Linked DNA regions of Homo sapiens: regions 1 and 3 are each linked to region 2. The links are contacts of gene promoters, found by promoter capture Hi-C in human tissues and cell types (Jung and others, 2019). All regions are on one chromosome and are shown on one strand. Each heading gives the region's core, a stretch centred on a gene start or on the middle of the fragment in contact. The rest is flanking DNA. Distances are from core to core; before and after follow the strand shown.

Region 1 (4,349 bases), core at 1,664-4,163, 55 kb after region 2:
CTAAATTTGATCTTATACCAAGCCATAGTTGTTTGTCAGGTGTGTATATCAAATAAACTGGATGGATCTAAACACAGAACAAGAATAAAATGTTACAAAATATTTTCACAGCTGCCTTCTATATTGAACATATGTTCTTCCACGTAATTGTCATCATTCTTCAAAACATTGTGCCTCAACTGGCATACATTTCTTATTTACTGGCTTTTAAATTTATCAGCTCCATCGATTTACTTTTGACAACGGTATTTCCAACACTCACATAATTTGAAGTAGACGACTGTATTTTATGTCATTGCCACCCAATCCAACAAACAAGAGGCAAGGTAAGCAGGCTTTTAATTCTGAGATTTATGTTTACTTTTTCTTAAAATATATACCGAAGCAAAACCCTACAGAGGCATTAAAGATAAAAGGACATCCTATCCTTCCTGTGATATAGAATTACAAGGGGAAGATGCCAGGTTTTTACAAAATCAGCTGCTGCTCCAGAGTATTCTTGGTCTCCTGAGGGATGCTGCAAAACCCTGCAGGTTAAATTAAACGCGCCTTCTTCAGAACCATCTTTGTTAAATATGAAAAGACACTACCTCCGACAAACACCCAAGTTACTACACACAATTCATTCTTGCAAATTATCTTTCTCCTCATACTCTGTAACTGCAAGGTGAATTTTAATGTAACAAAGGAGAGATGGATGTGTGAAGTGTGAGGCTGAATAAAAATGGCTGAAAAGCAATCCAAGCGAGGCTGGAGGGTAGCCACACCCAGTGCTAATATGGACTATTCCAAAATAAATCTGTTATACCAAGGGCCACGGGCACTGTTTCGTTCTTTCCCTCCATTTATTTCACAGATACCTATTATTAATAAATAGTAGTCACAGGTTACTCCAATGACAGAAAAAAACCCCAAATATTTCAAAGTGAACCATCCTAATATGTGGCTACGCCATCATATTTTCAGGATTTCGAGAGCTAGTCTGCATCTCCACTCTCCTTTGTGTGACCACAAATAACAACCCTGAAATGGGTGTGTCCCTCTTAAAAGGATGCACTCCAGCCCTCTCAGTTAATGGTTCTGCCAGGAGATTTCAACCTTTGGGCAGAAATAAATGCACTGGGATGCATGGAACAATAAGAAAGCACTTTAACTCCGGGGATGAGAAAACATTAAACAAGTACTGAATGATGCACAGATCCCAAAAGAACTCCCGGAGGAGGCGATTGATGCATTATTTAAAATACCAGCATTACAACAAGAAAACAAAGGGGTGGGGGTGGGGTTAAAAAAAAAAAGAAAAAAACAACAACCAAGCACCATCCATTTTGATTCTTGAAATAAGAGGTTTACTACCCCCCAACACAAAGCTCTGGGGTATAAAGCATGCACAGGTCCCACAGGTGAAATGATGCACAATGGACGAGTCCAGGTCCCGGGTTTCCCGTGCGCCTCAGGCATGCACTACTGAAATAAAGAGAATACCCTGACTTTTCCAGTTGCTCCACACACAGTCCATCTTGGTGGAATCGGCAGTGGCCTGCATCGTGCGGGCTTTGGGGGCTCGCCGTGGCTCTCCTCGGGGGCGCCGAGCGTGCACTCAAGCGTTGGTGCCCGGCTGCTGCGGCTGGGCTCGCAGTGGCCGCGCGGCTGCGGAGAGACTGAGGCTGCACCAGGCGGCGCGCGGTGAGGGGCGGGAGCGTCGCTGGCGCCGCAGTCTGCGCGGCCGGCAGCGAATCAGCGCGGCGCGGCCCCGGAGCCGCCTGCGCGCATGGGGATGCGGGCGCCGCTCCACGCGACAGCGTTGGCTGGGCTGCCCAAGGGTGCTACCCTGGAGACGGGTAAAGCGGTTCTGGCCGCGAAGGCGCTGACGCGGACAGTGGGTGGGAGGTTTGGGAGGAGGGGAAAAAGGGCTGACGGTGGGGGTGAGAGGAGGAGGACTTGGGCTGTTCCTGGGAGTTCTTGACTCCCAGAATATGCGAGGTGCATATTCTAGAAATTTCTGAGAAACCCAAGAAACCTGCTGGACAAGACCAAGTCAACGGCATCATAAATGTCAGGCTTGCAGCATAATGTTCCCTAATTGTTGCCACCGTTTACCTTTCACTTCTCCCTCTAACTCTTAAAAATCTGAACTCGATGAATTTTAATTGCCCAGAATCTTCTGAAGAATTGCCAGATTCTCTCCTTTTGGAATATTCCACAGATATCCAAAACCTTTGTTGGCAAGCAACAATCACTGGAGAGAAAGCCTACTGCTCTGTCCCAGAGGGCTTGTGTATTTCTTGGGTTACCCCTCTCTGTTTGTGGGTTGAAGGAATCCATGTCAGAATGCGGTGCCTGTAGACCCCAGACCAAAGCCCTTGGACTCTGGTACGTGGAGTCATTGGTCAATGCAGTGACAATCCAAGGGTGTCATTTGTGGGGACGTTCAAACAGAACTCAGGGAAGCAAAGGGCATTCTGTCTCAACAGTGTCATCTTTGGGATTGACCACTGGGGGGCAATGGAGGTGGGTGGTGTGTATTTGGGAGATAAGACTTTTGGCTTCCAAGCCCAGGTAGTTAAGGATGTCAGGAGTCCACAGTTAAAATGCAAATGTCTAAGGAAGGAACAGAACAATGGGTGGTGACCTGCTTTTTAAATCTTACCATAAACTACTTTATCAGAACATACATCAAGACCCTGAAGGAATGGATGGGATAAATGTATTTTGATGAAGAAAAGGTAGAAATAGGAAAGAGAAAGGACTGGAATGTGGGCATTGTCTGGAAAAGAAGGTACTGTTGGAAGGGGTCCCTAGAGGAGACAAGACACTGCATGAGGACAGAGAATGCCCTGGAGACCACGGGAGCATACAGAAGAGTTCAGAGGGAGCAGGAACAAACTTTCCACTTCATCTTGTGGCATGGCCTTATCCATTACAGGGTCTTTTTCATAGAGAAGTGGAGCCTTCCCGATTCTTCTACAGTTGCCAGAGGTGTTCTTTCCCAGATCAAAATCTACATTTGCATACCCCACACCAGCATGGGCCTAAGGACAGTAATCTCAAGGTTATGCTTGTAGACATGATTTATCATCTTTCATTTTAATGAAGCATATACACTTTAAAATACGATCTTTGGGATCATGTGTATTCTTTTCAGAATACAAGCTTGTGGAGAAACCAGCTGGGCCTCTCTGCGTATCTTTGTAACATATCTGAAATTATTCTTGATAAAGCTTAATGGGGTGTCAGAGCTCCCACAGGGCTGATGGGAAGGAACAACAATGACCACATTATTACAAAGCACTTTTCACAATGACCTACTCTAAGGTTATTCTTGATTATTTTTTCTATTTGTATTCCCTACCTTTCCTCCCTCCTCCCAATTTTTTTCATTGCCACGTCATTTTTGGGAATTCTGTCAGTTAAATACTGAAAAGACTGGTATATGATGATAGCCTGATCAGCACCGACTTCTCACTGCATGATATGAGGACAAGACTGAGAAGAAAGGAGAGGGTAAGGCAGGGGTTGCCTGGTGGGCTTTTGCTGCCCTGGCTGCTTTTCAGTTGGAGGGAGATCTTTAGAGCTGTGGCCACTAGGAGGCACTGCCAGTCCAATGATAGCCCCAGTTATCATTCCCTAAGTCCAGAAGGTGCCAGCAGGTACCTTTACTGATGAGTATTGTGTCCACCACATTACGGGAAACAGCGTGTACTGCCAATCTGACAGTCTGTATAGTGTGTATGGTGAATACACAATGTTCCCAATAAGGAACAGGGAGAAGCAAGCTCTCTTTAAAGTGGAGGATACATTAGGTCAGACTTTCTGGGCCAGGCGTTTTCATTGACCATAAAGTTGACCTTGGGGCCAGGCGCGGTGGTTCACTCCTGTAATCCTAGCATTTTGGAAGGCCGAGGTGAGTGGATCACTTGAGCCAGGAGCTCAAGACCAGCCTGGGCAACATGGTGAAACCCCATCTCTAAAAAAAATACAAAAAAAAAATTTTTTCCGGGCATGGTGGCATGCACCTGTACTCCTAGCTACTTGGGAGGCTGAAGTGGGAAGATCACTTGAACCCAGGGAGATCGAGGCTGCAGTGAGTTGTGATCGCACCACTGCACTCCAGCCTGGGTGACATAGTGAGACCCCGTCTAAAAGCTGACCTTGGAATGTCAGCTTGGCTGAAAGATCACATTATTTTCATTCATACTAAGTGTGGAGAGAGATGTTGGATGGCACACAAAAATCCACTCTAACAGTTTGATAGTTGAAGGTTGAGGAAGTAAGATGGCTATTTCACAGACAGATTCACACTAGTGAAGTAAAAATTGGCGGGCTTTAGCTTAATGTGTAGGTGGTAA
Region 2 (3,806 bases), core at 475-2,974:
TTTTATGATCTAGCTCAAATGCTTACTCGGCTGGAAGTTACATCTTCAGTCTCTGAATTTTTATTGTACATTACACTAATCTCTTTTGTACTTATTTCCTATTCCATAATGTTATAATTTAGGTATATATTTTATGCTCCTTGAGGACAAATGTGCTGGAGATTTACATATTAATATTTTATAACTCAGGGCAAGAGGGTGTAATGATTTTTTTTTCCTATGAAATATGTTCTGAGTGTCTAGACATTAACAGAAAAATGTATTTGTACATAAGTACTAGGGTTGCATTGGCATGCCGATCTAGAGATCAAGTATGAAAAGAGTTCAAGGTTCTAGGTCTGTCATTGACAGTGACCTCAGATACATGTGAATAATTTAGGTCTTAATAACTTTAGGTCTCCTCAGTGGGTAACATTCCTTTTTTTTTTTTTTTTTTTTTTGAGACGGAGTCTCGCTCTGTCGCGCAGGCTGGAGTGCAGTGGCACCATCTCGGCTCACCACAACCTCTGCCTTCTGAGTTCAACGGATTCTCCTGCCTCAGCCTCCCGAGTAGCTGGGATTACAGACGTGCGTCACCACGCCCGGCTAATTTTTGTATTTTTAGTAGAGACGGGGTTTCACCATGTTGGCCAGGCTGGTCTCAAACTCCTGACCTCAGGTATCCACCCGCCTCGGCCTCCCAAAGTGCTGGGATTACAGACATGAGCCACCGCGCCCGGCCAACATTCTTCATGATAACATTTACCCAAGCATATTTGCTAAGAATTGTGAAATTAACCTAGCGCATTTAAGAAGGAAAATAAAAACTATCCCAAATTAATAGTAACATTGTAACATAAATCAATACGATTATCTTGAAGAAATGGGATGATTCTAGTGAAGCACTGAAATGTTTTGTTGTTTGGCCTAAACGGTTTTTGCACCGAACAAGAAACACCCTTTCTTGGATTGTCTTACCTTAAGCTTAAGTGACTTGATTACAGGTTCAGCTTTCTAACTGAAAAATACTTTAACCTGGCCCTATCCAAGGTCATTTTCTATTAGAATCTCCTAAACAACCCTTTACATCTAATTTTTCTTGCTCAACACAACAGAAGCCTCTTAAACACTCCCTTTCCTATTTGCTTGTTAAATTCTCCAGTTTGCCACGGCAAAATGTCGGAGGAAGTTAACTTGTAAAGGAACGGCAAGAAGAGAACTGAAATCGAAGGCATAATCTAAATGCAGGTGTGTAATCAGGTCGCAGGCATAGGGCAGTGGCTTGGGAGTCCCGGATTTGTCACCTCAGTAATTTAACTACTACTGAGGGTTGAGCGAAGTCACCTCAGCTGCGCTAGGGCAGGAGATCTGGGCACTTGGTCCCACCCGCCACCTCTCTCTCCCCAGCCTCCAAGGAGCGGGGAGAAGGCTCTGCCCTGCCCAGTGATGCCCTGGTTCCGGGAGGAGAGTCCCCGCTCAGGGTTCCCGCTGAGTGCCTCCTAAGCGCCACCTCTGAGGAGACGTCCCTTCCAGCGCCCGAGGGGCGTCTTACCCACAACAAACAGCTGCTCCAGCGCCTCGACCGCGACCGAGGAGCCCAGGGTGGAGGGTAAGGTGCATAACTCCAGGGAGGGGCCAGTGGAGACGGCAGCCGCCTGCACCAGCTTCTCGCCAGCGCCCAGCCCTGGGGTCCAGGGGCTCAGGGCCATTTTGCCGCTCTACTTGAGCGCCTCCTAAGCCAGAGCCAAGGATTGCCGGTTGCCACGGGCAACGAGGACACCGAGGTCGTGGGGCGCCCCCTCGTGGCCCGCACCTCTAGTAGGTACCCTCCTGGTTCTCTAATTTTATCCACGATAATTAAGCAGTCTGGGAAGAATGACTCTCTCTTTAGCTAATTTTTCCCCTTTCAATTTCCATTGCGTTAGTTCAGGCCTGTATCTTTTTTGTGGGCCACTGGAATCATAATAATGATCACTTTTGAGCGCATCTTTGTGCCGGATACTGCAGGAGAACCTTTATATACAGTAGCTCACTTAATCTTCACAAGGACTTTGTGAGCAGGCTCTTTTAGTACCTCCACTTTTACAGACACGTAAACTGAGGCGCGGGCGACTAAATGAACGGCTCAAGACCACAAGAGGATAATATTGGATTTAAAGTGACGTCTGGGCCGGGCGAGGTGGCTCACGCCTGTAGTCCCAGCACTTTGGGAGGCCAAGGCGGGAGGATCACCTGTGGTCATGAATTCAAAACCAGCCTAATCAACATGGTGAAACCCCATCTCTACTAAAAATACAAAAATTAGCCGGGCGTGGTGGCGCGTGCCTGTAGTCCCAGCTACTCAGGAGGCTGAGGCAGGACAATCGCTTGAACCCGGGAGGAAAAGGTTATAGTGAACCGAGATCTCGCCATTGCACTCCAGCCTGGGCGACAAGAGCTAAACTCCATCTCAAAATAATAAAATAAAATAATAAAGTGAAGTCTGTATGACTCTTTCTACTATGCTACAAAACCTTCTTTTGTACTAATTTAGAACTTTCCTTGTATCTAGTACATCACTGAGCACATTTTGCCTTGAATCATAGTGATTTTTCTCTGTCTTCCCATCGAACTGTGAGCTCTGTGATGACGGGGACAGGAGGATATTATTCATTTTTCTCTGCATCTCCAAAATTCAGCTTAGCATGAGGCTTAGGTTGAGTCTGTCAGTTCCTTTTCCTCTGGTGGGTTAGAGAGAAGCAAAGGTGATTCAACCCTCCTCTTCTTTTCTCTACAGATGGCAAAATTGAAATTAGAATGATAGTAACAATGACAATAGCTATCAATTGTTAAATGCTTATTTTGTTCCAGGCACTGTTTTAAATACTTTGCAGTACCCCATTTAACCCTCACAAATAATCTTTTGAGCTAGGTATTATTGCCTGCTTTGCAAGTGAGGGCACTGAGCTACATCCTAAACCACTGTGCAACACTGCCTTGGAGGGGACACAGCATACCAGTAGCAGAACTAGTTCTAGAATCCAGGCCTCCTTCATCCAGGGAGTGCCATATTTTGGTGTTGGAAACCATCCTGGACAACATCCTCCTTTTTTGCTGGATTTGGTCTATTGGTATTCAAATCTGTTCCTGCCCTTCTGGGCCCTCCTCTGTGTGGCAGGAGTAAGAAGACTGGATATGAAATTTCCTGGATGTCCTTGCCACCTGTTTTCTTGGTAAGTTCCACTAATGGGAAACACTTGAGGGAGATTAGAAGGCCGAGAAATCATGCATTTCTGCCTCCAGAAGTGGTAGTTTCAGGCTACAGTTGACTGTAGGTCCCAGCAGTTTTGGTGGCTCTAGAAGTGGCAGGAGTAGGAGCCAAGTGACTCCAGCAGTCTCCAGCTGCTCAGCACTATATGTGAGCTTGTGCGTACAGTACAGGTGTTATGGCAGCTCTGATGTCTGGGGTCTTCTTTATCTTCTTACCCTTTGGCTTCTATACCCCTTGTAACAAATTCCTTGTGATATACTTCTCTCTTCTGGAAATATCTAGACTGGACTACTTCAAGGCAACCCTTAAGCTGTCACCAGAAGACTCTTCTTACATATCGCATCATTTGGATCACATTGCTCTCCATTATCTATGAATAAAGGCTAATCTTAAGGGGGCATTTTGTGTCCTCCCCACTTACTGGATTTGTTACAGATTTTCTTACATTTCTCTATTTCCCTTCATGTCTCTAATACTTTCTTTTTCCCTGAACTTTGTGAGAAAGTTACATGTACATACACATACATATGTATAAAGTGGGAAAAGCAAGTTGAAAAAGAAACGTACAGTATTCAAT
Region 3 (3,974 bases), core at 1,086-3,585, 57 kb before region 2:
CATTCCATGCTCACGGGTAGGAAGAATCAATATCGTGAAAACAGCCATACTGCCCAAGGTAATTTATAGATTCAATGCCATCCCCATCAAGCTACCAATGACTTTCTTCACAGAATTGGAAAAAACTACTTTAAAGTTCATATGGAACCAAAAAAGAGCCCGCATCGCCAAGTCAATCCTAAGCCAAAAGGACAAAGCTGGAGGCATCACGCTACCTGACTTCAAACTATACTACAAGGCTACAGTAACCAAGACAGCATGGTACTGGTACCAAAACAGAGATATAGAGCAATGGAACCGAACAGAGCCCTCAGAAATAATGCCGCATATCTACAACCATCTGATCTTTGACAAACCTGACAAAAACAAGAAATGGGGAAACGATTCCCTATTTAATAATTAGTGCTGGGAAAACTGGCTAGCCATATGGAGAAAGCTGAAACTGGATCCCTTCCTTACACCTTATACAAAAATTAATTCAAGATGGACTAAAGACTTAAATCTTAGACCTAAAACCATAAAAACCCTAGAAGAAAACCTAGGCAATACCATTCAGGACATAGGCATGGGCAAGGACTTCATGTCTAAAACACCAAAAGCAATGGCAACAAAAGCCAAAATTGACAAATGGGATCTAATGAAACTAAAGAGCTTCTGCACAGCAAAAGAAACTATCATCAGAGTGAACAGGCAACCTACAGAATGGGAGAAAATTTTTGCAATCTACTCATCTGACAAAGGGCTAATATCCAGAATCTACAATGAACTCAGACAAATTTACAAGAAAAAAACAAGCCCATCAACAAGTGGGCGAAGGATATGAACAGACATTTCTCAAAAGAAGACATTTATACAGCCAAAAGACACATGAAAAAATGCTCATCATCACTGGACATCAGAGAAATGCAAATCAAAACCACAATGAGATACCATCTCACACCAGTTAGAATGGCAATCATTAAAAAGTCAGGAAAAAACAGGTGCTGGAGAGGATATGGAGAAACAGGAACACTTTTACACTGTTGGTGGGACTGTAAACTAGTTCAACCATTGTGGAAGTCAGTGTGGTGATTCCTCAGGGATCTAGAACTAGAAATACCATTTGACCCAGCCATCCCATTACTGGGTATATACCCAAAGGATTATAAATCATGCTGCTATAAAGACACATGCACATGTATGTTTATTGTGGCACTATTCACAATAGCAAAGACTTGGAACCAACCCAAATGTCCAACAACAATAGACTGGATTAAGAATATGGGGCACATATACAGCATGGAATACTATGCAGCCATAAAAAATGATGAGTTCATGTCCTTTGTAGGGACATGGATGGAGCTGGAAACCATCATTCTCAGCAAACTATTGCAAGGACAAAAAACCAAACACCACATGTTCTCACTCATAGGTGGGAATTGAACAATGAGAACACTTGGACACAGGAAGGGGAACATCACATACCAGGGCCTGTTGTCGGTGGGTTATGAGGGAGGGATAGCATTTGGAGATATACCTAATGTTAAATGATGAGTTACAGGGTTCAGCACACTAACATGGCACATGTATACATATGTAACTAACCTGCACATTGTGCACATGTACCGTAAAACTTAAAGTATAGTAATAAAAAAAAAGTTCACTTGAAATGAATTAGAAATCTAGACATAAACACTGAAACTAAAAAAATTATACAAGAAAATATTGAAGAGCCTGGGGTAGGCACAAATGTTTTAGGCAGGAAACAAAAAGTACTACCTTAAAAGACAAAATCGATAGATGGGCTTCGTTCAAATGAAAAAATGTTTACTCTTTCTGAGACACCATGAAGAAAATGAAAAGTCAAGCTTCAGACAGAAAAAGGACTCATTTCCAGAAAACGTAAAGATTTTAACTGGATAATAGGAAAACAACACAAAGCAATGAGTAAAAGATTTGGACAGACATGTGACAGATTGTATTTTCCAAAGATATCCCCACAGTATATTCCATTCCACAAGTTTTTTTCCCTGACATGATGCTGACACTTCTTCCATTGAGAGGTGGTGGCTATGACCCCTCCCCTTGCACCTGAGTGACTGCCTCAACCATTAGCGTATTGTGAAAATAACACTGTGACTGAAGCTAGGTCATAAGACGCCATGAACTTCCACTTCGTTCTCTTGGGATGCTTTTGGAACCCAGCAGGCCAAACTGCTACATGGAGAGGCCATGAGGAGGTGTTCTGGCCAATGGCCTCCCTCGAGATCCAGCTGAGGGCCAGCATCAACTTCAGACACAGGAATGAGTGAGTCTTCAGATGATTTCAGTTCCCGGCTGTTGAATTACCCTCAGCCTTCAAGTTGCCCTGGCTGATGCCATGCAGAGCAGACATTTAGTTGTCTTCAACGAGCTCTGATCAAATTGCCATTTTGTGAGCAAAGTAAATAATTTGTCTTCAGCTACCATGTTTGCAATATTTGTCACAAAAGATAATATTCAAATGGCCAAGAAACACATGAAAAAGTATACTCAACAACATTACTCATTAGAGAAGTACAAGTTACAATCACAATGAAATGCCATTACATACCTATTAAAATGACCAAAATATTAACAATTTAAAGCGTTTTCACCATTTTAAGTGTTGATGAGGATGTAGAGCAATGGGAACTCTTCTCCATTGTTAGTGGGATGAGACACTTAACAACCACTCTGGCAAATTTGTCTGGCGGTTTCTTATAAAGTTAATCATACACTAACCATATATATTTCCTATAAAGTTAATCATACACTAATTGCTATATAATTCAGCAATTCCATTATAGGTATTTACCCAAGAGAAATGAAAACATGGCCATAAAAACACTTGTAAACAAATGTTCACAATAGCTTCATTCATAATTATCCCAAACTGGAAATAATCTAAATGTCTTTCGACTGGTGAATGAATAAATAAAATATGGTATATCTATACAATGGGATTCTACTGTACAGCTATAAAAAGGAGCAAACTAGTGAGACATGCAACAACTTAGATGAATCTTAAAACAATTTGCTGAGTGAAAGAAGCCAGGTATAAAAGTGTGCACCCTGTCATTTCATTTATATCTCATTATTAATGACAGAAAGCAGATCAATGGTTTCCAGGAACTAGAGATGGGGTAGGTGATCGACGGCAAAGGGATACAGAGAAAATTTTGTAGTCATGAAAATGCTCTATATCTTGCTTGTGGTGATAGTGGTTACAATAGCATGTACATTTGTCAAATTCACTAACCTGAAAATGGGTGCATTTTTTGTATGCAAATCAATAAACTGGATTTAAATGAAGTAAAAACTTTATATGTAAAGAACACTGTAATGGTTAATATTGTCAACTTGACTGGATTGAAAGATGCAAAGTACTGTTCCTGGGTATGTCTATGAGGGTGTTAACCAAAGGAGATTCACATTTGAGTCTGTGGATTGGGAGAGGCAAACCCACTCTCAATCTGGGTGGGAACCGTCTAATCAGCTGCCAGCGTGGCTAGACTGGCTGAGTCTTCCAAGATTCCTCTTTCTCCTGTGCTAGATGCTTCCTGCCCTCGAACATTGGACTCCAAGTTCTTCAGCTTTTGGACTCTTGGATTTACACCAGTGGTTTGGCAGGGGCTCTTGGGCCTTTGGCCACAGACTGAAGGCTGCACTGTTGGCTTCCCTACTTGTGAGGCTTTGGGACTCTGACGGATCCACCACTGGATTCCTTGCTCCTCAACTTGCAGAAGACCTATCATGGGACTTTACCTTGTGATCATGTGAGTCAGTTCTCCTTAATAAGCTCCCTTTCATATATACATATATCCTATTAGTTCTGTCCCGCTAAAGAACCCTGACTAATACAAGCACCCACACATTACTTACCCTCCTGAGCTATTAGTTGCCGAGACAAGTCGCTTGAGGTGTGCATGAGGGCTTCTTGTCCTTCTCTGTATTTCTCTATGTTATTCTTCAAG

The links. The method cuts DNA at HindIII sites, captures the fragments that hold promoters and counts their contacts. A contact is called where the count stands out against the background at its distance.
Region 1: a fragment that was not itself captured here is called in contact with the fragment with the promoter of CCDC175 in region 2 in 2 of the 25 tissues and cell types used here (bladder and hippocampus).
Region 3: a contact is called between a fragment that was not itself captured here and the fragment with the promoter of CCDC175 in region 2, in 1 of the 25 tissues and cell types used here (H1 embryonic stem cells).

The regions. Positions count from the first base shown.
Region 1 is chr14:59,628,961-59,633,309 of GRCh38, forward strand. The region is part of intron 3 of RTN1 (reticulon 1); the gene reads right to left. Among named protein-coding and RNA genes, the nearest start is that of MIR5586, 16 kb to the right of the region's middle. The HindIII fragment of the contact is 3,319 bases long and covers 1,255-4,349 here.
Region 2 is chr14:59,575,088-59,578,893 of GRCh38, forward strand. It overlaps CCDC175 (coiled-coil domain containing 175), which reads right to left and starts at 1,725. Exons shown (of 20, transcript NM_001164399.2): 1 at 1,532-1,725. The coding sequence starts at 1,688. The HindIII fragment of the contact is 13,786 bases long and covers 1-3,806 here.
Region 3 is chr14:59,517,692-59,521,665 of GRCh38, forward strand. It overlaps CCDC175 (coiled-coil domain containing 175), which reads right to left. Exons shown (of 20, transcript NM_001164399.2): 17 at 3,883-3,974. Among named protein-coding and RNA genes, the nearest start is that of JKAMP, 35 kb to the left of the region's middle. The HindIII fragment of the contact is 3,554 bases long and covers 559-3,974 here.